Linked DNA regions of Homo sapiens: regions 2, 3, 4 and 5 are each linked to region 1. Evidence: promoter capture Hi-C in 16 types of primary human blood cells and fetal thymus (Javierre and others, 2016). All regions are on one chromosome and are shown on one strand. The core of a region is centred on a gene start or on the middle of the fragment in contact, and the rest is flanking DNA. Distances in the headings are between cores, read along the strand shown. Region 1 holds the start of ZNF44 (zinc finger protein 44). Region 2 holds the start of LOC124904639 (a long non-coding RNA gene). Region 3 has its middle 10 kb from the start of ZNF441. Region 4 has its middle 36 kb from the start of ZNF823. Region 5 has its middle 56 kb from the start of ZNF823.

What was found. Contacts are between HindIII fragments. The CHiCAGO score rates a contact against its expected background, and 5 or more counts as called.
Region 2: a contact is called between a fragment that was not itself captured here and the fragment with the promoter of ZNF44 in region 1, in 1 of 17 cell types (M2 macrophages). The highest score is 5.6, in M2 macrophages.
Region 3: a contact is called between a fragment that was not itself captured here and the fragment with the promoter of ZNF44 in region 1, in 1 of 17 cell types (M0 macrophages). The highest score is 5.6, in M0 macrophages.
Region 4: a fragment that was not itself captured here is called in contact with the fragment with the promoter of ZNF44 in region 1 in 2 of 17 cell types (M2 macrophages and erythroblasts); the score reaches 5.8 in M2 macrophages.
Region 5: a contact is called between a fragment that was not itself captured here and the fragment with the promoter of ZNF44 in region 1, in 1 of 17 cell types (erythroblasts). The highest score is 5.3, in erythroblasts.

Annotation. Positions count from the first base shown.
Region 1 is chr19:12,292,102-12,296,317 of GRCh38, reverse strand. It overlaps ZNF44 (zinc finger protein 44), which reads left to right and starts at 1,435. Exons shown (of 4, transcript NM_016264.4): 1 at 1,435-1,626. The coding sequence starts at 1,624. RefSeq lists an enhancer at 1,051-1,100 and a silencer at 1,651-1,880. The HindIII fragment of the contact is 16,141 bases long and covers 1-4,216 here.
Region 2 is chr19:11,776,512-11,780,923 of GRCh38, reverse strand. ZNF441 (zinc finger protein 441) reads right to left here. Exons shown (of 4, transcript NM_152355.3): 2 at 3,187-3,313; 3 at 2,531-2,594; 4 at 1-905. LOC124904639 (a long non-coding RNA gene) reads left to right here and starts at 3,287. Exons shown (of 2, transcript XR_007067141.1): 1 at 3,287-3,430; 2 at 3,599-3,749. The HindIII fragment of the contact is 4,273 bases long and covers 575-4,412 here.
Region 3 is chr19:11,754,894-11,758,897 of GRCh38, reverse strand. No RefSeq gene overlaps it. Among named protein-coding and RNA genes, the nearest start is that of ZNF441, 10 kb to the left of the region's middle. The HindIII fragment of the contact is 318 bases long and covers 1,490-1,807 here.
Region 4 is chr19:11,701,194-11,705,623 of GRCh38, reverse strand. No RefSeq gene overlaps it. Among named protein-coding and RNA genes, the nearest start is that of ZNF823, 36 kb to the left of the region's middle. The HindIII fragment of the contact is 3,499 bases long and covers 217-3,715 here.
Region 5 is chr19:11,681,096-11,685,215 of GRCh38, reverse strand. It overlaps the pseudogene ZNF833P. Among named protein-coding and RNA genes, the nearest start is that of ZNF823, 56 kb to the left of the region's middle. The HindIII fragment of the contact is 2,051 bases long and covers 1,449-3,499 here.

The sequences.
Region 1 (4,216 bases), core at 186-2,685:
TTTTGTATTTTTAGTAGAGACGAGCTTTCTCCATGTTGGTCAGGCTGGTCTCAAACTCCCGACCTCAGGTGATCCGCCCGCCTGGGCCTCCCAAAGTTCTGGGATTACAGGTGTGAGCCACCGGGCCCGGCCTCTTTTTTTCTTTTTTAAATATGTAGCAGTACAAGCCGCAGACAAGAACCCCTCAGACACCGAGTTGTGGAAGGAAAGGGCTTTATTCAGCTGGGCTGGGAGCATCGGCGGACTCACGTCTCCAAAAACCGAGCTCCCCGAGTGAGCAATTCTTGTCCCTTTTAAGGGCTTACAACTAGGAGTCCGCGTGAGAGGGTCGTGATTGATGGAGCAAACAGTGGGTACGTGACTGGGGGCTGCATGCACCGGTAACCAGAACTGAACAGAACAGGACAGGGATTTTCACAGTGCTTTTCCATACAATGTCTGGAATCATAGATAACACAGTTAGGTCAGAGGTTGATTTTTAACTACCCAGCCCAGGGCACAAGCCGGGTTATCTGCCTGTGGATTTCATTTCTGCCTTTTAGTTTTTACTTCTTCTTTGGAGGCAGAAATTGGGCATAAGACAATATGAGGGGTGGTCTCCTCCCTTATAGTATAGAGACGGAGTTTCACTCTATGTCCAGGCTGGTCTTGAACTACTGGCCTCAAGCGATCCTCCCACCTAGGCCTCCCAAAGTATTGGGATTACAGCGGTGAGCCACCACGCACTGCCAAGAGGACAGATTCCATCCCCAGTGATTTCATCCCCACCCCAACCAGTCAGTAGCAAGCCTAGCTACCTCCACCCTTTCTCCCAAACTGCCCTTGAAAAACCCCTACCAGAGGACCTTGGATGAGAATAATTTGAGTAGTAACTCCGTCTCTCACGTATCGTAGCTGGCCTAGTGTTTATTAAACTTTTTTTTTAACTGCAATACCGTGGTCTTTATTTGCGTAGCGCGCAGAAAGAACCCATCCAGCGCTTATAGTGGAAGAAAGGCTTGACCTTGCAGGCGACAGCCTCATCCCAAATTCCTGGTCCCTGGAGGACATCAGCACCACCCCCCCACCCACCCACCCCCTGTCCCCCGCTGCTACAGTGTGGCCTGTGTGGCCTCGGCTGCCCTCCTGCTCTGAGGCCAAGGGATGGCTCCACTGGACAGTGAGTCTGGGATTCCTTGCACACAATTGTTCAGGAGGAAGAAGCAAAAAGGGCCCACTGCGTACAGGTAGGAAATTCCGCTTTAAGGCAAACGTTTCCCGGGACGGGTCGGGTCACAACGCAGGGAGGAAGCCCGCCCTGCCAGGGGCCGGGTCTGGAACCTGTTCATCCGGCTGCACTCAGCACTGTGAGATCGCTTCTTCTGTCACTCAGTGCCCAGGAGGCGGGACCTGGAGGGCTACCCAATCAAAGTCGTGGGCGGGTTCCTGAGAATTGTCAATCAGGCGCGAGGCAGAGAGGAGGGTGTGACGTTCCAGGAGCTAGTGGCCTCTTCACCCTGGTGACCTCTGTTCCGTATTCTGTCACTGAGAGACGCCCTGGGACATCTGTGGTGGCTTTTGTCGCGCTGGGACCTACCCTGACTACGGGAGTTGGGAGGACCCGGGACACCGCACAGCCGGGAAATGGTGAGTGTGCGGGGCCCGGCGTCCTGAGGCAGGGCGAAGGGCTGGTCGGAACCAGTCGGAACCGGCTGTGGCGGGACCCGGGCCTCGCCGCAGCGTCTTTGGGGTCTGGGACCTGAGCGCCCCCTGCGCACCTCGGTCCTCGGTCCGTTTGGCCGCAGGGTGGGGCTGGGCCGGCAGCCGGGACCCCGGGCGTCCTGTCCCGTCCCTGAGCTGCGACTGCGGCCCCGGCCCCGGCGCCCCTCTCTGGGCAGCTCCGCGCCCTCAGCCCCGCTTCTCCCCAGATTGTGCGGCGGAACCAGTACAGGTTCGCAGCCCAAGTCACTGCACCCGGACGCCGAGGGCTGCAGCAGAAACGGTTTAATAGGAGAGGACACCCTAGATCCGCCTCCGTGAGAGGTTTGAGGATGGGGTGTTTAGGGGTCTGGACGGGGGTGGTTGGGATGTGGGGTCGCTGGTTGGTGGAGAAGTGAGGGGTGAATCTTGGGACTGGAGGTGAAGAAACCGCATTCTGCTGCTGAGTGGGCTTCCTTGTGGGGTCTTCAGCCTGCTTGGCGCCAGCCTTTCCGCTGGAATTCAAGATCTGAGAAAGAACTTAGACGACTCTTGAGCAACTCTCAGAGATCTTATCCCCAGGCCAATGGGGAAGCCGGCGGTCAGCGTCTGCTGTGACCTGACTCTCAGGGAGGCGGCTTCCTGTGAAGCAGCGGGGCTGAGGGCACCTGGTTAATATCTAACTGCAATCTCGCCTCCAGCCTGGCTCGCAGTTCCTGTGAGCCCGGTGAGGAGGCTGCACGGTGACGGTGGGAGGGTCACTAGGCACAAACCAGACTCGTGTGTGGGGTTTGTGTGTGGGAGGAGCTGTGGTCTCTGTGCTCTTCAGTCCTTTCTTTCCAAGGGCGACCATTTCTCCTCCGAGGCTTTCAAAGATATTGGCATCAGGGTCTTTGAGACCTGTCCCTTCATCCTAACTCCTCTTGGGGCTAACAGTAAATCTTTTGGTTTCCAGAGCCTTCCATATGCTAACTTCACTCCTCAATTCCCAGTAACGTTATGAACCCTTTGTCAGCAAGACGATATTTCAAATAGACACAGAATTTTGTCGTTTGTTTTCAGATAGCAATGTATGGCTCTTTTTAAACAGATTTATTTTGTTTTCCTTAACATTTCACATGTGAGGAAGAAGAGAATAACCACCTGACACTGCTGTAAAAAAAACCAAACCTTTGTGCCTCTTTTATCTCCCCTAGGCACAGATGCCTTCTCAGTATGTCCTTTACAGGGTGATGTGACCTCAGCCCACCCTGTATCTTTTCCAGGCCCTGTGTTATGGAACTTTCTGGGGCTACCCTAAGATGCTGGAAGCTGCCAATCTCATGGAGGGCCTAGTGGATATCGGCCCTTGGGTCACTCTTCCCAGAGGACAGCCTGAGGTGTTGGAGTGGGGCCTCCCAAAGGATCAGGTGGATGCACTGGGGTGGGAGGAATCTTCTGGTATATCATTCCTGTAAAAAGCTAACCCCTGGGCTGGGCGCGGTGGCTCACGCCTGTAATCCCAGCACTTTGGGAAGCCGAGGCGGGCGGATCACCTGAGGTCAGGGGTTCAAGACCACCCTGGCCAACATGGTGAAACCCCATCTCTACTGAAAATACAAAAATTAGCCGGGCATGGTGGCAGGTGCCTGTAATCCCAGCTACATGGGAGGCTGAGGCAGGAGAATCACTTGAACCTGGGAGGTGGAGGTTGCAGTGAGCCGAAATCACAATCATGCCATTGCACTCCAGCCTGGGCGACAAGAGGGAAACTCTGTCTCAAAAAAAAAAAAAAAAAAAAAAAAACCTAACCTCTGGGACATTGACATTTTTTTCCCCAAGCCTAGTTTCCATTCCTTGGTGACGCATGGCTTATCAGAAAATTGGATGGTGTTATTCAGGGGACAAGACAAATGATTTCTGCCTTCTGGACTCTCTCCGACTGTGAAGCTAGAAAACTGTTTCTAAAAACTGAAAAACCCACCCAATGAGGTTTTGCATGAGCCTGAAAAAGACATAAGGCAGTGTCTCCTAGGAATGTGGTTGCTGAGCACTTCAATGAGCACCGTGGGGCTGGCGGATGTGCCAGGTGATAGAACGACCTGACCTGACGGTTGAGTGAGACTTGTCTGTGTTCCAGTCAGTTCTGCCCCACCCTGGGTTAGTTACCCTGAAAAGATTTGTTCAGTTATTTCCAATTTAATTTTTTATTAACTGTAAAGGGCATCCTATCATTAGAGATTATAGAGAAGATAAAGTGTTTCTAAAGAGGCCAGAAAGAGTTGGAATTCAGAAAACAAATTATATATATGTAGTTTTCTATTCCTTTTTTTTATTATTTTTATTTTTTATAAGACAGGGTCTCCCTCTGTTGCCCAGGCTGGAGTGTAGTGGCACCATCATGGCTCACTGCAGCTTAGGCAGCCTAGACTGCCTGGGCTCAGCCTCCGGAGTAGCTGGGAATGCCCACCATGCCCTACTAATTTTTGAGTATTTTGTAGTGATGGGGTTTCCTCATGTTGCCAGGCTGGTCTTGAAGTCCCGGGCTCAAGTGATCCTC
Region 2 (4,412 bases), core at 1,462-3,961, 520 kb after region 1:
TGCATTTATGAGGTCCATCTCCAGTGTGCGTTATCATGTGTCTTCGAAAACCTGTGCAATCAGAGAATGCTTTCCCACAATACTTACATTCATACGGTTTCTCTCCAGTGTGAGTTCTTTTATGTCTTCGAACTGAACTGGGAGAAAGAAAGCCTTTTCCACATATCTTACATTTATGAGGCCCATCTCCAGTGTGCACTATCATGTGTCTTTGAAAGCTTCCAAGATGATAAAATGCTTTCCCACATTGCTTACATTCATAGGATTGTTCTCCAGTGTGAGTCCTTTCATATAGTTGAGTGTAACAGGAACAACTGAAGGCTTTCCCACATTGTTTACATTGATAGGGTTTCTCTCCACTGTGTGTTCTTTCATGTCTTAGAGTGGAACTATAAGCAGGAAACGCTGTAGAACACTGCTCATATTCATATGGTTTCTCTTCAGTGTGAGTTCTTCTAAGCATATGAAATAAACTAGGCCAAATAAAGGCGTTTCCACACAACTTACATATACGAGGTCCATCTCCATGGTGTGCTGCCATGTGTCTTTGAAGGTTTTCAAGAGAACTGAAGCTTGCACATTCCTTACAATCATAGAGTTTCTTTCCATGCTGAGGTCTTTCATGTATTTGAAAGCAGGGCTGATAACTGAAAGCTGTCCCACATTGTGTATGTGTATATGGCTTCTCTCCATATTCTTGATACTCACATGGTTTGTGTTCACTGTCAACTCTAACGTAGCAATTAAGAGATGAACGACCCATGAGGACGTCTGTACACTCACTGCTTTCCCATGGATCTACTCCAGGTATTTTCTCGTTCACAATACTGTCTTGAGTCTGGGTAAAGGGTCCTCCACATTGACTATTATCTTTAATTTCACAGGCTCTCTCTACCATATGACATCTGTAAAAAATAAGAAGTACATTAGTAAAGGTTTGTTTATAAATGATTTTGTATTAATAAGTATTGGATTTACATTTCTTTTCTTTCTTTCTTTTCTTTTTTTTTTCTGAGACAGGTTCTCGCTCTGTTGCCCAGGCTGGAGTGTAGTGGTGTGATCTCAGCTCACTGCAACCTCCACCTCCCGGACTCAAACCATCCTCCCACCCCAGCCTCTCAAATAGCTGGGTCTACAGGCATAAGCCACCACACATGGCTGATTTTTTTTTTTTTTTGAGACGGAGTCTCGCTCTGTTGCCCAGGCTGGAGTGCAGTGGCGCAATCTCGGCTCACTGCAAGCTCTACCTCCCCCGGGTTCACACCATTCTCCTGCCTCAGCCTCCCAAGTAGCTGGGACCACAGGCGCCTGCCACCACACCTGGCTAATTTTTTGTATTTTTAGTAGAGACGGGGTTTCACCATGTTAGCCAGGATGGTCTCGATCTCCTGACCTCGTGATCTGCCCACCTCAGCCTCCCAAAATGCTGAGATTAGATTTTTGTATTTTTTATAGAGACGAGGTTTCACCATGTTGCCCAGGCTAGTCTTGAACTCCTGAGCTCAAGCAATCTGCCCACCTTGACCTCTTGTAGTGCTGGGATTACAAGGGTGAGCCACCATACCCAGCCTTTCTTTTTCTTTTTCTTTTTTTTTTTTTTTTTTTGAAACTGGGTTTTGCTCTGTTGCCCAGGCTGGAGTATAGTAATGTGAACAGGGCTTACTGCGGCTTTGACCTCCTGGGCTCAAGCAACCTTCCTGTCTCAGCCTCCCAAGTAACTGAAACCACAAGCACAGGCCACCATGCCTAGCTAATTTTTGTATTTTTTGTAGAAAGGGCGTCTTGCCACGTTGCCCAGGCTGATTGAACACCTGGGCTCAAGCAGTCTTCCTGCCTCAGCTTCCCAAATAGTTGGGATTACAGGTGTGAGCTATCGCACCTGGCCTGGATTTACATTTCTAACATTATCATGCAAAGTGTAGGTCTCATGCCCTCTTTGAACATGAATGGACAGAATGATGTACAAGGTAACTCAACCCCAGCTGTTTTGAAGATAGTGACATTCATATGGGAATTCTTAATACTGTTTCCAAGGGAACTATTTTGCAGGCACTGAATAGCCATAGCCATGTCACATTTAAGTATATGTTTTTGAAGAAAATTTTCTAAGAATAAATAAATTTAAGGTGGGCTTGTTAATTTTCCTTGCTTCTTTTTAAAATTTTGGGCTGGTCACAGTGGCTCATGCCTGCAATACCTGCCTTTTGAGAGGCCAAGGCAGGAGGAACGCTTAAGGACAGGAGCTGGAGATGAGTCTGGTCAAACACAGCAAGACTCTATCTCTACAAAAACTAAATATGTAGCCACATGTGGTGGTGCATGCCTGTAACCCTAGCTACTCAGGAGGTTGAAATGGGAGGACCATTGAGCACAGGAGTCCGAGGCTACAGCGAGCTATGATCATACCACTGTACTCCAGCCTGAGCAACAAAGTGAGACACTGTCTCTAAAACAAACAAAATAAAATAAAATTTCTGGCATACTATGAATCACTTCAAGGACACAGCTTTCTCTTGTGAGTGCAAATTACCTTAGATTTCTTCTGAGATCTTTGTACTGATCTTCTTCTATATCATGATTTTGCCATATCATTCCTAAAAGTTAGAACCAGAAAAATGACTATAAATTATTATAAAATTATAGAAAGACTGTAAGATTTTATGTACACTACAATCATGCATGATTCACACACCAAACTACAGCTGAGTCTTCAACACAGGTTTGAACTGCACAGGTCTACTTACATATGAATTTCTTCAGTCTCTGCTACTCTTGAGACAGCAAGACCAACCCCTCCTCTTATTCAGTCTACTCAATGTAAAGACAATCAGAATGAAAACTTTGTAATGTTGTATTTTCTATGAATACTAAATAATGTTCCACTTACCTATGGTTTCCTAATGAATATTTTCCTTTTCTAGCTTACTTTCCTGTGAGAATATATAGCATGTAATACATATGACATATAATACATGTATTAATCAACTGTTTATGTTACCAGTAATGCTGCCAGTAAACAGTAGGCTACTAGTGGTTAAGTTGTGCGGGAGAAGATGTATGACTGCTTGGGTGGCTGGTTCAAGGGCCAATTATATACCCTTCCATATTTCAAATAATTGAACAGCATTGATGACCAAGAAACAAATGTCTCTAATTGACTAAGTGAAGACATGATGACATCCTTACCTATACAGTCCAGGTTTCTGATGGTTTCCTGCATCACATCTCTGTAGAGACTCTTCTGTGATGGACCCAGCAAAGCCCACTCCTCACAGGTGAAGTTTATAGCCACATCCTCAAATGCCACTGAGTCCTGAAATATTTCACATGTGCAGAGGAGGAATATTAAAACTGAAGGCACTGGGAATGTAAATTCACTTCATAACCTTCACATGATGCTGTGGTTTCCAAGCATTTATTCAAGAACATGGTAAACCCACTCTTATTCTCTCTTTACACTCATTTTATCCCACACAATTCTGATCCTAGAAATGAACATGTTTTGTAAAGTAACAGTTGAATAGGAACACGCCTCTTGTTGGTAAGTTAAGAAAGTGAGTCTTATTGCCTGAATCACTCCTCATTTCTATTTCTACAGTGGGTCTGCAGTTCTTGTCATGACAAAGTCCTACTACCTATTGTGCAAAAGAGAGTTACCAGCAAGAAGGCTCTCACCAGATGCCCAGCCTTGATGCTGGGCTTCCCACCCTCCAGAAGTGTAAAAAATAAATATCATTTCTTATAAATTACCCAGGTTAAAGTATTCTGTTATAAGCAACAAAAAACAGACTAAGCCATGAAAAAAACACTCTGAGGCCAGGCACAGTGGCACACACCTGTAATCCCAGCACTTTGGAAGGCCGCGGCAGGCAGATCACCTGAGGTCAGGAGTTCGAGACCAGCCTGACCAACAGGGAGAAACACTGTCTCTACTAAAAATACAAAAAATTAGCCCGGTATGGTGGTTCATGCTTGTAATCCCAGCTACTCAGGAGGCTGCGGCAGGAGAATTGCTTGAACCCGGGAGGCGAAGGTTGCGGTGAGCCGAGATTGCGCCATTGCACTCCAGCCTGGGCAACAAGAGAGAAACTCCGCCTCAAAAAAAAAAAAAGGGAAAAAACACTCTGGTCACTGTGTCTGTAATGAGTGACCCTTGTGCCTTGGGGGATTTAGCCTGTGCTATGTGACTACACTAAGAGAGAACATTTGGAAGCTAGCAACTGGTTTACTGTAGAACATATGTAGTTAAGTATGACAAAAGACTAATAAGGATATTTTACCATCCCAATGGAAAAATTAAACTTTATTAAGTAATGTCAAAGAAGAAAAGAAGGGCCAAGATTGCATATGTTCTTAGAAAAAAACTCAATGTCATCTCTCATGAATATCTATAATATTTCCCTAAATCCCTA
Region 3 (4,004 bases), core at 399-2,898, 540 kb after region 1:
ATGTAATTTTATAATAATATATAGTGATTCTTCTGGGTCTACATTTTAGGAATGAAATGGGAAGACCAAAACATTAAAGATTAGTACAAAATTCCCAGAAGAAATCTAAGGTAATTTGCCCTAGGAAGAGAAAGATATGTCTTTGGAATAATTCTTAAAGTGACAGGAAATTTTTCACACCTATAATTCCAGCACTTTGAAAGGGTGGGGGGGTGGGGCGCAGTTCAGGAGGTCGGGAATTCGAGACCAGTCTGGCCAACATAGTGAAACCCTGTCTCTACTAAAGATACAAAAAATTAGCCAGGCGTGGTGGTGTGAACCTGTAGTCCCAGCTACTTAGGAGGCTGAGGCAGGAGAATCGCATGTACCCGGGAGGAGGACGTTGCAGTCAGTCGAGATCATGCCATTGCACTCCAGCTCAGGCGAAAGTGCAAGACTCCGTCTAAAAAAAAAGACAGGAAAATTTTAAAACAAGCAAAATAAATAAATAAATAAATAAATAAAAAAGAATAATCCTGGCTTAAATTTATTCACTCTTAGAAAATTTTCTTCAAAAACATACTTAAATGGGACATAGCTGTTAAGTGTGTCTGCAAAATAATTTCCTTGGAAAACAGTACTAAGAATTCCCACGTGAATATTACTGTTCCGATGATAGCCACAGTTGAGTTATCTTGCACAGCATTCAGTCCGTTCATGTTCAAACAGGGCATGACACCTAAGCTTTGCATGATAATGTCAACAATGTAAATTTAAGACCTATTAATATATATAAAAAACACTTATAAACAAACCTGTAGTAATTGTACTTCTCTGTTTTTACAGATATCATATGGTAGACTGATTCTGTAAAAGTAAAGGAGGTAGATAATTTGGAGAAACTTTCAGCCACATTCCAGGTGGTATTGTGAACAACAAAAATCTCCCTTGAGGCCGGGCTCGGTGGCTCACGCCTGTAATCCCAGCACTTTGAGAGGCTGAGGCAGGCAGATTACCTGAGATTGGGAGTTCGAGACCAGCCTGACCAACATGGAGAAACCCCGTCTCTACTAAAAATACAAAATTAGCCGGGCGTGGTGGCACAATGCCTGTAATCCCAGCTACTCGGGAGGCTGAGGCAGGAGAATCCCTTGAACCTGGGAAGCAGAGGTTGCAGTGAGCCAAGATCAGCCATTGCACTCCAGCCTGGGCAACAAGAATGAAACTCCGTCTCAAAAAAAAAAAAAAGTCTCCCTTGAGCAAAACCACGTGAAAGCAGTGTGTGTGGAGAAGTCAGCATGGGTCGTTCATCTTAATTGCTACCATAGAGCTCATGCTCAACACAAGCCACATGAGTATCAGGAATATGGAGAGAAGCCACATACACATAAACAATGTGAGAAAGCCTCCAGTTATTGCCACTTCCTTTGAATACATTAAAGGCCTTACCCTGGAAAGAAACTTAGTGACTGTAAGGAATGTGAGAAAGTACTTAATCGTCTCAGAAGCTTTCAAACACACATGAGAATGCACAGTGGAGATAGGCCTCATAAATGTAAGATATGTGGGAAAGGCTTCAATTCTCACAGACCATTTCAAAGACATGAAAGAACTTACACTGGAGAGAAACCTTATAAATGCAAACAATGTGGGAAAGCCTTCAGTGGTTTCTGTTACACTCAAATACTTGAAAAGGCTCAAACTGGAAAACAACCCTATGAAGGTAAGCAATGTGTAAAAGCATTTTATCATCTCAGAGGCTTTCAAATATACACAAGAACATACACTGGAAGTAGAAATCATAAATGTAAGATATGTGGGAAAAGCTTTCATTATCTCAGTTTAGTTCAAAGACATGAAAGAACTCACACTGAAGAGAAACCCTATAAATGTAAGCAATGTGGGAAAGCCTTCTTTCATGCACAAGCTTTCAAAGACACATGAAAACGCACACCGGAGATGGATCTCAGACATGCAAGGTATGTGAGAAAGCCCTTGATTCTTCCAGTTTTCTACAAAGACATAAAAGGACACACACTGGGGAGAAACACTGTAAATGTAAATGTGGGAAAGCCTTTAGCGATGTCTGTTCTTTTTGAAATCATTACAGGACTCACACTGGAAAGAAACTCCATGAACGTAAGGAGTGTAAGAAAGCATTTTGTTTTTGTCCTTTTCCCTCCTAAGGCATGAAAGAACTCACTGGAAACAAAACCATGATTGTACGCAATTTGGTAAAGCCTTCAGTTTTTCCAGTTCCCTTTGTATACATGAAAAAATTCACACTGGAGAGAAGCTGTATGAATGTAAGGGATGTGAAAAAGCATTCAGTTCTCCCACTTACTTTAATGGACATAAAAGGACTCACTAAAGAGAAACCCTCTAAATGTATGGAATGTGGGAGAAGCATTCGCTAATCTTATTTTATTTAAGATATGAGGAAGAATTCACATTGGAGATAAGCCCTATGAATATAAAGATGTTATAAAGACTTAAGTAGTTTCCATTTATTTTGAATATAGTTATCTCTTGATATATTCAAGAGATTGGTTCTATCACCTCCCAAGGATACCTGAATCCACAGATGCTAAAGTCCCTTTTTAAAAATGACATAGTTGCATGTAACCTATGCACATCCTCCTGCACACTGTAAATCATTTTTAGATTATTTATAATACTTCATGCATTGTAAATACTATGTAAATAGTTATTATATTGCTTAGGGAATTATTGAGAAAAAGTCTATACTTATTCAGTACAGGGCAACCATCACAGGCCTCCCTAAATAGTACATGTCAGCCAGAAAGTTACAATTTCCTTCAATACACACAGATTCCTTTTGAGAATTGACCTGAAAGAGTATGTTAATATTCAGCAAAATCCTAGTTTGTCTCTCTTGATTACCCAGGTATAGTGATAGTGATGATGATCACTGTATGGTGCCTAACACTGTGATTTGTTGAGGTGGCTAGACATGTGGTATTGTAGATACGTAGTGAGAGATCAGGTTAAATGGAATCTTCTGACAGAACATCCGAACAATCATCTATGTTATAAGAACAAGGTTCTGATTGCAGATGTTGACTCTTTGGAGGAGGCTAAATAATACAGTCAGGATCTGTTTGGCTTGAGGGCTGAAGATCTATAAGTACTGAGGGTTCAGTCTTCATATATGCAAATGCTTAGTTAGAAATGTTGTTATAAGAATCTTATTCCTTTATTTCTTTGAATCATCTACTGTGTTTGTAGGCATGTTGTAATTACTCAGGTGAGGTGGAGACTTTGCTCCACTGAGGGATCTTACTTGAGGATAATAATCTTTAACACCTCTGCCTGTTGAAAAACTGCTGCAATGCGTTCAGGTCCCAATCAATGGCTCTGCATCTTTTAAATCTTCTACATCATCATAATGTCATTATTGTTGTCATTGTAGAGGATTTCAGAAGATCTTTTGAGTTCCTTGTTAGTAAAGATTTGTCTTTGCTTTTGTGTAAGTTTTTCAGTCATCCTTGATCATGTCAGAGAGCCTTTCCCACCAATCTCTTTTCCAGAATATTGAGTCAAAGAGGATTCTTCTTCTTTTTTTTTTTTTTTTTTTTTTTTTTTTGAGACGGAGTCTCGCTGTCTCCCAGGCTGGAGTGCAGTGGTGCGATCTCGGCTCACTGCAAGCTCCGCCTCCCGGGTTCACGCCATTCTCCTGCCTCAGCCTCCCGAGTAGCTGGGACTACAGGCACCCACCGCCACGCCAGGCTAATTTTTTGTATTTTTAGTGGAGATGGGGTTTCACCGTGTTAGCCAGCATGGTCTCGATCTCCTGACCTCAAGATCCGCCCGCCTCCGCCTCCCAAAGTGCTGGGATTACAGGCGTGAGCCACCATGCCTGGCCCAAAGAGGATTATTCTTATATGAAGGTTACCTTCTGGGTTTTTGGCTTGCTTGGGAACTGTCACCACTTCCTCCTTTCATATTTCTCTTCTTTGAAATAGAAGTGTTTTCCTAAGCCTGTCTCAACACTAGGGCACACA
Region 4 (4,430 bases), core at 717-3,216, 590 kb after region 1:
CATGAAAGACTCCCAAAGCGTATCTGGTATCCGTGTAAATTGTAGCCGTTTTCTTTTTCTTTTTTCTTTTTGAGGTGGAATCTGGCTGTGTGGTTCAAACTGGCCTCAAACTCCTGGCCTCAAGAATCCCCTTGCCTCAGCCTCCTGAGTAGCTGAGATTGTGGGTGTGGAAGCTTACTCTCTGTGTCAGTTTTCTTGTTTGCCAATGTGCAAGCTTTCCTAAGAGCTATGAGTTCAGTCCTTGGGCTGATTTTACAGTGAGTGAAGACAGTGCCCCGAGCGTTTCATGTGGAGCAACCATGGCATGACCCATTATTATGTTCTTCAGAAAATTTCTTTTACAGGATGTATCCTAAAATAGAAGTACATCTAGGTTGTCTAAGGGATGCTCTTGCGGCTTTAGAACCATTTCTATGCCTGCATGACTATCATGTGGGACGGAATGGGATGCTTCAGCATCAGGGTGGGTAGTAAAGTAACCAGACTTACTGGCAAATTGTCAGCTATATAGACCAGCAGGGCAGAATTGAGAGTCCCTTAGCTATGGTTTAAATATTTGTGTACTCTCTAAAATTTATAAGTCAGAACTTAATTCCCACTGCAACACTATTGGGAGGAGGGGCCTTTTGGTGATTAGATCATGAGGACTCTGCCCTCGTGAATAGATTAATGGCATTATACAGGGTTTGATGAATGCAATTTGCCCTCTCTTGCCCTCCTGTCTTCCACCCTGTGAGAATGCAGCAATGCTGAAGCCAGATGCCAGTGTCTTCTTGGATTTCTAAGCCTTCTGAACTGTGAGAAAGTCAATTTCTATTCTTTATAAATTACCCAGTCTGTGGTATTCCACGATAGCAGCACAAATGGACTAAGACACTCTTTGTTTATGGCTCATTGATTTTCAACAAATGGGCCAAGATGCTTTCATAGGGAATGGGTTTTCAACAATGTGCTGGGAAAATGGGATATTGACCTGCAGAAAGATGAACTGAGAACCTTTCTCACATTATACACTAAAATTAACTCACATTGCCAGGCGCTGCGGCTCACGCCTGTAATCCCAGCACTTGGGGAAGCCGAAGTGAGCAGATCCCTTGAGGCCAGGAGTTCCAGACCAGCCTGGCCAACACAGTGAAACCCTGTCTCTACTAAAAATAGAAATAAATTAGCCGGGTGTGGTGACGCATGCCTGTAATCCCAGCTACTTGGGAGGCTGAGGCAGGAGAATTGCATGCCTGTAATCCCAGCTACTTTGGAGGTATGAGAATCACTTGAACCTAGGAGGCAGAGGTTGCAGTGAGCCGAGATCGTACCACTGCACTCCAGCCTGGACGACAGAGCAACACTGTGTCTCAAAATGAATAAATAGATAAAGTAATTCCTGATAAGAAAGGACTTGGTTTTGTCATTTTCCTATTTGTTTTCAATATGCCTTGTAGCTTTTTTCTTCTCATTTCATGCATTTCTGCATTATTTTGCTTTTAATTGCTTTTTGTAGTGAAACATTTAAATTTCTTTATTGTTTCCTTTTGTGTATACACTACTGCTCTGTTAATTACCATGGGGATTGCGTTTACCATCCTAAGGCCATAACATTCTAAATTTATGCCAATTTAACATAAATAGCATGCAAATACAATGCTCCATGGCATGCCTGTTCACACCCCTTTCAGTTTGGTGTCATAAATTTACATCTTTATACTTTATGTATTCAAAAACGCAAACATATTTTCGGTGCATTCGTTTCTTTCTTTCTTTTTTTTTTTTTTTGAGACGGAGTCTCTCTCTGTCTCCAGGCTGCAGTGCAGTGGTGCAATCTCGGCTCACTGCAACCTCCGCCTCCTGGGTTCAAGTGATTCTACTGCCTCAGCCTCCCAAGTAACTGAGATTACAGGCGTGCGCCACCACGCCCAACTAATTTTTGTATTTCTTTTTTTAGTAGAGATGGGATTTCTCCATGTTGGTAAGGATGGACTCAATCTCTTGACCTCGTGATCTGCCTGCCTCAGCCTCCCAAAGTGTTGGGATTGCAGGCGTGAGCCACCACGCCCAACCTAGTTTCTTTTTTATTAGTCTCTTAAACTGTGTAAAAAAACAAAATATAGAGTTCAAAAGCCAAGTCTAAAATGCTAGCTTTTAGACTAATAATTTTTAATGGATTTGTATCTTCAATTATGTAAAGACAAAAACTGGAGTTCACAATTATTGTACAATAATATTAGCATTTATAATTGTCCATGCATTTGTTTCTACTGAGATCTTTATTTGGGCTTACGCCTTCCAGATATTGTCCAGTGTTCTATTTCAACCTGTAGAAGGCTTTTGCGTTTCTCACAGGGTACATCTAATGGCAAAAACAAAAAGAACAAAACTACCTCAGTTTTTGTTCATGTGAGCATGCCTTAATTTCCTCCTCACTTTTGAAAGACAATGTTGCCAGATATTGGATTCTTGGCTGTCTTTGTTTCTGAGATGGAGTCTTGCCATGTTACCTAGGCTGGCCTTGAACTCTTGGGCCTTAACTGATCCTCCCACTTCAGACTCCGGAATAGCTGGGACTGCAGGGATGTGCCACCGTGGCCATTTTTTTTTAAGTACCTTGAATACATCAGCCCACTACCTCTGGCCTTCAGCGCTTCTGATGAGAAATCTGCTGATGATCTTATGAAAGATCATTTATATGTGATGATTCACTTCTTTCTTGCTGCCTTCAAGGTTCTCCCTTTATGTTTGGCTTTGACAATTTGAGTATAATATGTCTTCATGTCCTTCTCTTTGCATTCATCCTACCTGGAGTTCATTGAGCTTCTTGGATGACAGCATTCATTCATGGCTTTTATCTAATTTGGAATATTTGCAGCTATTATTTCTCCAAATAGTCTCCCCTGACCTTTCTCTGTCTCTTCTCCTTCTGAAACTCCCACAGTGCATATATTGGCCTGCCTGATGCTGTCTCACACGTCTCACCTGACTGCCACACCTATGTCTAGCTTATTACCAGGTCAGGGCTCTGTAGAGAGTGGGTATCTGGCTATCTTGGTAGAGATTAACTTGGCAGAGGTAGAACCATAAGGGCATCTGCCAGTATAATCAAGTTTCCTGTGAAGGACATTTGGTTATGGGTTAACACTTAAATATTAGACCCCATGAAAGTCACACTGTAAATATCCACAACCAAGTGTCCTGGAGCCCCGTCAATGCAGCACTAAAGTTCTTTTTGTTTGTTTTTGTTTTTGCTTTTTTTGAGACAGAGTCTCACTCAGTGGCCCAGGCTGGTGTGCAGTGGTGCAATCTCGGCTCACTGCAAGCTCTGCCTCCCGGGTTCACGCCATTCTCCTGCCTCAGCTTCCTGAGTAGCTGGGACTACAGGCGCCCGCCACCATGCCTGGCTAATTTTTTGTATTTTTTTTAGTAGAGACTGGGTTTCACCAGGTTAGCCAGGATGGTCTTGATCTCCTGACCTTGTGATCCGCCCGCCTCGGCCTCCCAAAGTGCTGGGATTACAGGCATGAGCTACCCCGCCTGGCCAGCACTAAAGTTTATAGCCACGCTTCTGAGAGAGATCCCGAGGCCAAATTAGAGGAAAACACTCCATGTGCAGCTGCCTGCAACAGGGGTAAGGGTGGGGATGATAGCTTGTATTGTGCTAAGTGATAAAATGACCACAATTAGCCATAGTTTACTGTCTAATCCTTTTTATGGAAGTTGCAAAGCTTCAATAGCCTCCACAGTTATAACATTGCTACATCAGATGATTCTGTCAGTCCAGTGGTTGTCTAGGTGGGGAGACAGCTTTTTTTTTTTTTTTAAGACAGAGTTTCGCTCTTGTTGCCCAGGCTGGAGTGCAATGGTGCGATCTCGGCTCACCGCAACCTCTGCCTCCCGGGTTCAAGCGATTCTCCTGCCTCAGCCTCCCAAGTAGCTGGGATTACAGGCATGCACCACCGCACCCGGCTAATTTTGTATTTTTAGTAGAGATGAGGTTTCTCCACATTGGTCAGGCTGGTCTCGAATTCCCGACCCCGGGTGATCTGCCCACCTCAGCCTCCCAAAGTGCTGGGATTATAGCTGTGAGCCACCACACCCGGCTGAGACAGCTTGGTTTTGTTTTTGTTTTTGTTTTTGCTTTTGTTTTTAGATGGAGTCTCGCTCTGTCGGCTGGAGTGCAGTGGTGCAATCTCTGCTCACTGCAACCTCTGACACCCGGGTTCAAGCGATTCTCCTGCCTCAGCCTCCCAAGTAGCTGGGATTACAGGTGCAGGCCACCATGCCCAGCTAAATTTTGTATTTTTAGTAGAGACGGAGTTTCACCATGCTGGTCAGGCTGGTCTCAAACTCCTGACCTCATGATCTGCCCGCCTCAGTCTCCCAAAGTGCTGGGATTACAAGCGTGAGCCACTGCGCCCGGCCTGAGAAAGCTTTTTTATGCT
Region 5 (4,120 bases), core at 1,225-3,724, 610 kb after region 1:
AGGTTTGAACAGAAATGAAGGTTTTTCCACATTTCTTACATGGAGTTTCTTTCCAGTGTGAGGCCTTTCATGTGTTTGAAAGGAGTGGCAATAGCTGAAGGTTTTCACACACTGCTTATGTGGCTTCTATGTTGCTGACACTCATCTGATTTGTGTCCAGTGTCAGCTCTGATGCAGCAATTAAGAGATGAATGATCCATATTGCCTTCTTCACACACACTGCTTTCACATGATTTGACTCCAGTAAAAGTCGTCTTCACTATACCATTTGGAACAAGGCTGAAGATCTCTTCACATTGACCATCTTCCTTACCTTCAGACTCTCTCTACCATATGACTTCTGTGAGAAATAAGCACAATACCAAGGGCTGGTTTATAAATGATTTTATATTCATTAGTAGGTATTTGATTTACATATTTTGCATTATGATGGAAAGTAGGTTTTCTGGCTTGTCTGAACTGTGTAAACATCAATGGACTGAATACTCTGCAAAAGGGCTGCATTACACTTATTATCAAAACATTGATATTCATAATCAATTTCTTAACACTGGCTCCAAGGCAACTATTTTGAAAACACTGGATATTTATGTCTTGTGTAAGTATATTGTTTTTGGAAAATAGTTATTTTTTTTTTTGGAGACAAGGTCTCACTCTGTCACCCAGGCTGAAGTACAGTGGCATGTTCACGATTCATCACAGCCTTGACCTCCTGGGTTCAAGCCATCCTCCCACCTTAACCTCCCTAGTAGCTGGGACCTCAGGTGCATGCCACCATGCCTGGCTAACTTTTAGATTTTTGTACAGATGGAGTTTCACCATGTTGCCCAGGCTGGTCTTGAACTCCTGGGCTCAAGCAATCTGCCTCCCTTGACCTCCCAAAGTGCTGGGATTACAGGTGTGAGCCACCATGCCCAGCCTGGAAAATTTTTTCTAAAAATGAATGAATTTGAAGCTGGGCTGCTTCATTTTCTTTGCTTGCTTTTAACATTTGTTGTCATTCTAACAATATCTTAAGGGACATAGCTCTAGGTTGTAAGTGCAAATGACCTTAGATTTCTTTTGGAATTATTGTACTGATCTTCAATGATCTGGTCTTCACATTTTATTCCTAAAATGCAGACCCATAAAAGTCATCATAAGTTATTACAAAATTATAGAAAAATTATTAGATTCTATGTTCATGGGACACTGTGGCCATGGCTGATTTATTCACCAAAGTTCAGTTGAACCTTGACCAACATGGTTTTGAACTGCACAGTTCACTCATGCACATTTTCATCAGCTCTTGCCATCTCTAAGAGAGCAAGACCAAACCCTCCTTTTTTGCTCAGGTTACTCAATATGAAGACAACCAAGGAAGAACACCTTGATAATCTACTTGCACTTACTAAAGTCAACATATCTTCTCTTCTAATTTTTTTGATAACCTTTTCAAAAGAAAAGCTTACTGTATTATAAGAATACAGTACATAACATACCAAACAGGCTTGGCATGGTGGCTCATGCCTGTAATCCCTGCACTTTGGGATGCTAGGGAGGAGGAATGCTTGAGGCCAGGAGTTCACGACCCTCCACCTTACAAAAAAATTATACAAAAATTAGCTGGGGATGGTGGCACTCGCCTCTAGACCTAGCAAGGGACCCTGTCTTAAACATATATACACATACGCACTTTTTTTTTTTTTGAGACGGAGTCTCTCTCTCTTGCCCAGGCTAGAGTGCAGTGGCGTGGTCTTGGCTCACTGCAACCTCTGCCTCCCAGGTTCAAGTGATTCTCCTCCCTTACCCTCCCAGGTAGCTGGGATTACAGGTGCATGCCACCACACCAAGCTAATTTTTGTATTTTTAGTAGAGATGGGGTTTCACCACGTTGGCCAGGCTGGTCTCAAACTCCTGACATCAAGTGATGCACCTGCCTCAGCCTTCTAAAGTGATGGGATTACAGGCGCAAGTCACCATGCCCAGCCACACACAGAGTGAGACAAGGACTCACTCTGTTGCCCAGGCTAAACTGTAGTGGTGCAATCATGGTTCACTGCAAGCTCAACCTCCCCAGTTCAAGCGAACCTACTGCCTCAACCTTCTGAATAGCTAGGAACACAGGTGTGCCACCATCCATGGCTACTTTTTTTATTTTTTATACAGACAGGGTATCACTTCATTGCTACAGCCAGTCTCAAAATCCTGAGCTCAAGCAATCCTCCCACTTCAGCCTCCCAAAGTACTGGAATTACAGGTGTGAGCCCCCACACCTGGCCATATATATGTATATAGATATATACCAAACATACAAAATGTATTAATTGACTTTCTGTTATCAATACAGCTTTGGTCAACAGCAGTCTATTAGTAGTTAACTCTTTAGGGACTCTAAATTCACAGGCACCTAACAGACTGTGTGGACGATCAGAGTCTCTAACCCCCACCTTGTTCAAGGGTCTGCTGTATTCCCTACCATGTTCCAAATCATTGAGCAATGCAGAAGACCAAGAAACACTTGTTCTATAATTGACTAAGTGAAGAAATGATGTCACCCTTACCTACAGACATCAGGTTCCTGAAGGTTTCCCACATCACATCTCTGTAGAGATTCTTCTGGGAAGGACCCAGCAAAGCCCACTCCTCCTGGGTGAAGTTCACAGCCACATCCTCAAAGGTCACTGAGTCCTGAAACATCCCACATGGCAGAGGAGGAAGGTTCAGACCAACAGCATTAGGAATCTATACTCACTTCAGAAGTTCACACGATGCTGTGGACTCCAAAAATTTATTCAATGACTTGGTCAGCCTCTTGTCTTCTGTCTACACTCACTTTCTCCATCACAGCAATTCTGATGCTAGAATTGAATATATTCAGTAAAGTGACAGCCAACAAGGACATGCCTCTCATTGGTGATTTCAGAGACTGAGATATGCTGCCTGGATCACCTCTAGTGTCTCTCTGTATAGTGGGTCAGTATTACCTCTCATGAGAAAGTCCCAAACATACTGTCTATAAGAGACAAATTAGCAGTTCTGAGACTGCATATTCTTACACGTTTATTTAGAAAGTTGAACTTTGATGGTATCTAGGGGCTAGATTTGGGAAGATCTGCACCAACATAACTAATAAATGGGGTTGTGTGTGCCTTAACTACTTATGCAAACAATATGGTATTTGCCTAATTCCCATTTTCCCTCTGAGAGTGTGGTATTTTCAGCAGAAGCAGTGTACCTAATCAGCCCTTGCTAAGTGTGAATAATTTCCCCTTCCAAAACTCATAACGAAATTTGATCCCCAATGTGTCAGTACTGAAAGCAGGGCCCTTTAAGAGGCATGAGGGCTCTGCCTCATGAATGGATTAATCCACTGACGAATTGAAGAGGTAATGAATGAATGGGTTATCCTACAAATAAGACTTGTGGCCTTGTAAGAAGAGAAAGAGACCAGAGTTAGCACAATCAGCCCCCGTGCCTAGTGATCTCCACTGCCTCAGACAGTAAAGAGCAAGAAGCTTTCACCAGATGTACCCCATTTGCCCTTGGATTTCCAAACTTTGAGAATTGTACAAAATAAGTATTTTTTATATATTAACCCAAATTCAGGGTTTTTTGTTTTTTTTTGTTTTTGGAAACAGTCTTGCTCTGTTGCACAGGCTGGAATGCAGGGGGGGCAATCTTGGCTCACTGCAGCCTCGACCTCCCAGTTCAAGTAATTCCCATGCTTCAGCCTCCCAAGTAGCTGGGATTACAGGCATGCATGACCATGCCCGGCTTTGTTTTTATATTTCAGTAGAGATGGGGTTTCACCATGTTGGCTGAGCTGGTCACAAACTCCTGGTCTCAAATGATCCACCTGCCTCAGCCTCCCAAAGTGTTGGGATTACAGGCACGAGCCACCGCGCCCAGCCAAATTTCAGGTATTCTATTACAACTAACAGAAAACAAGAGCCATGAAAAAATACTCTGGGCACAGAGTCTGTAATGCGTGACCCTGGCAGGTAACATTTCACATGTTAATCACCACCACATGTTATTTGGGTGACATAGCCCATCCTGTGTGATTACAATGAAAGAGAACATCTGTACAAGAGGTCCTGAAGGGAGTGCTAAATATGGAAAGAAAAAACCATTACCA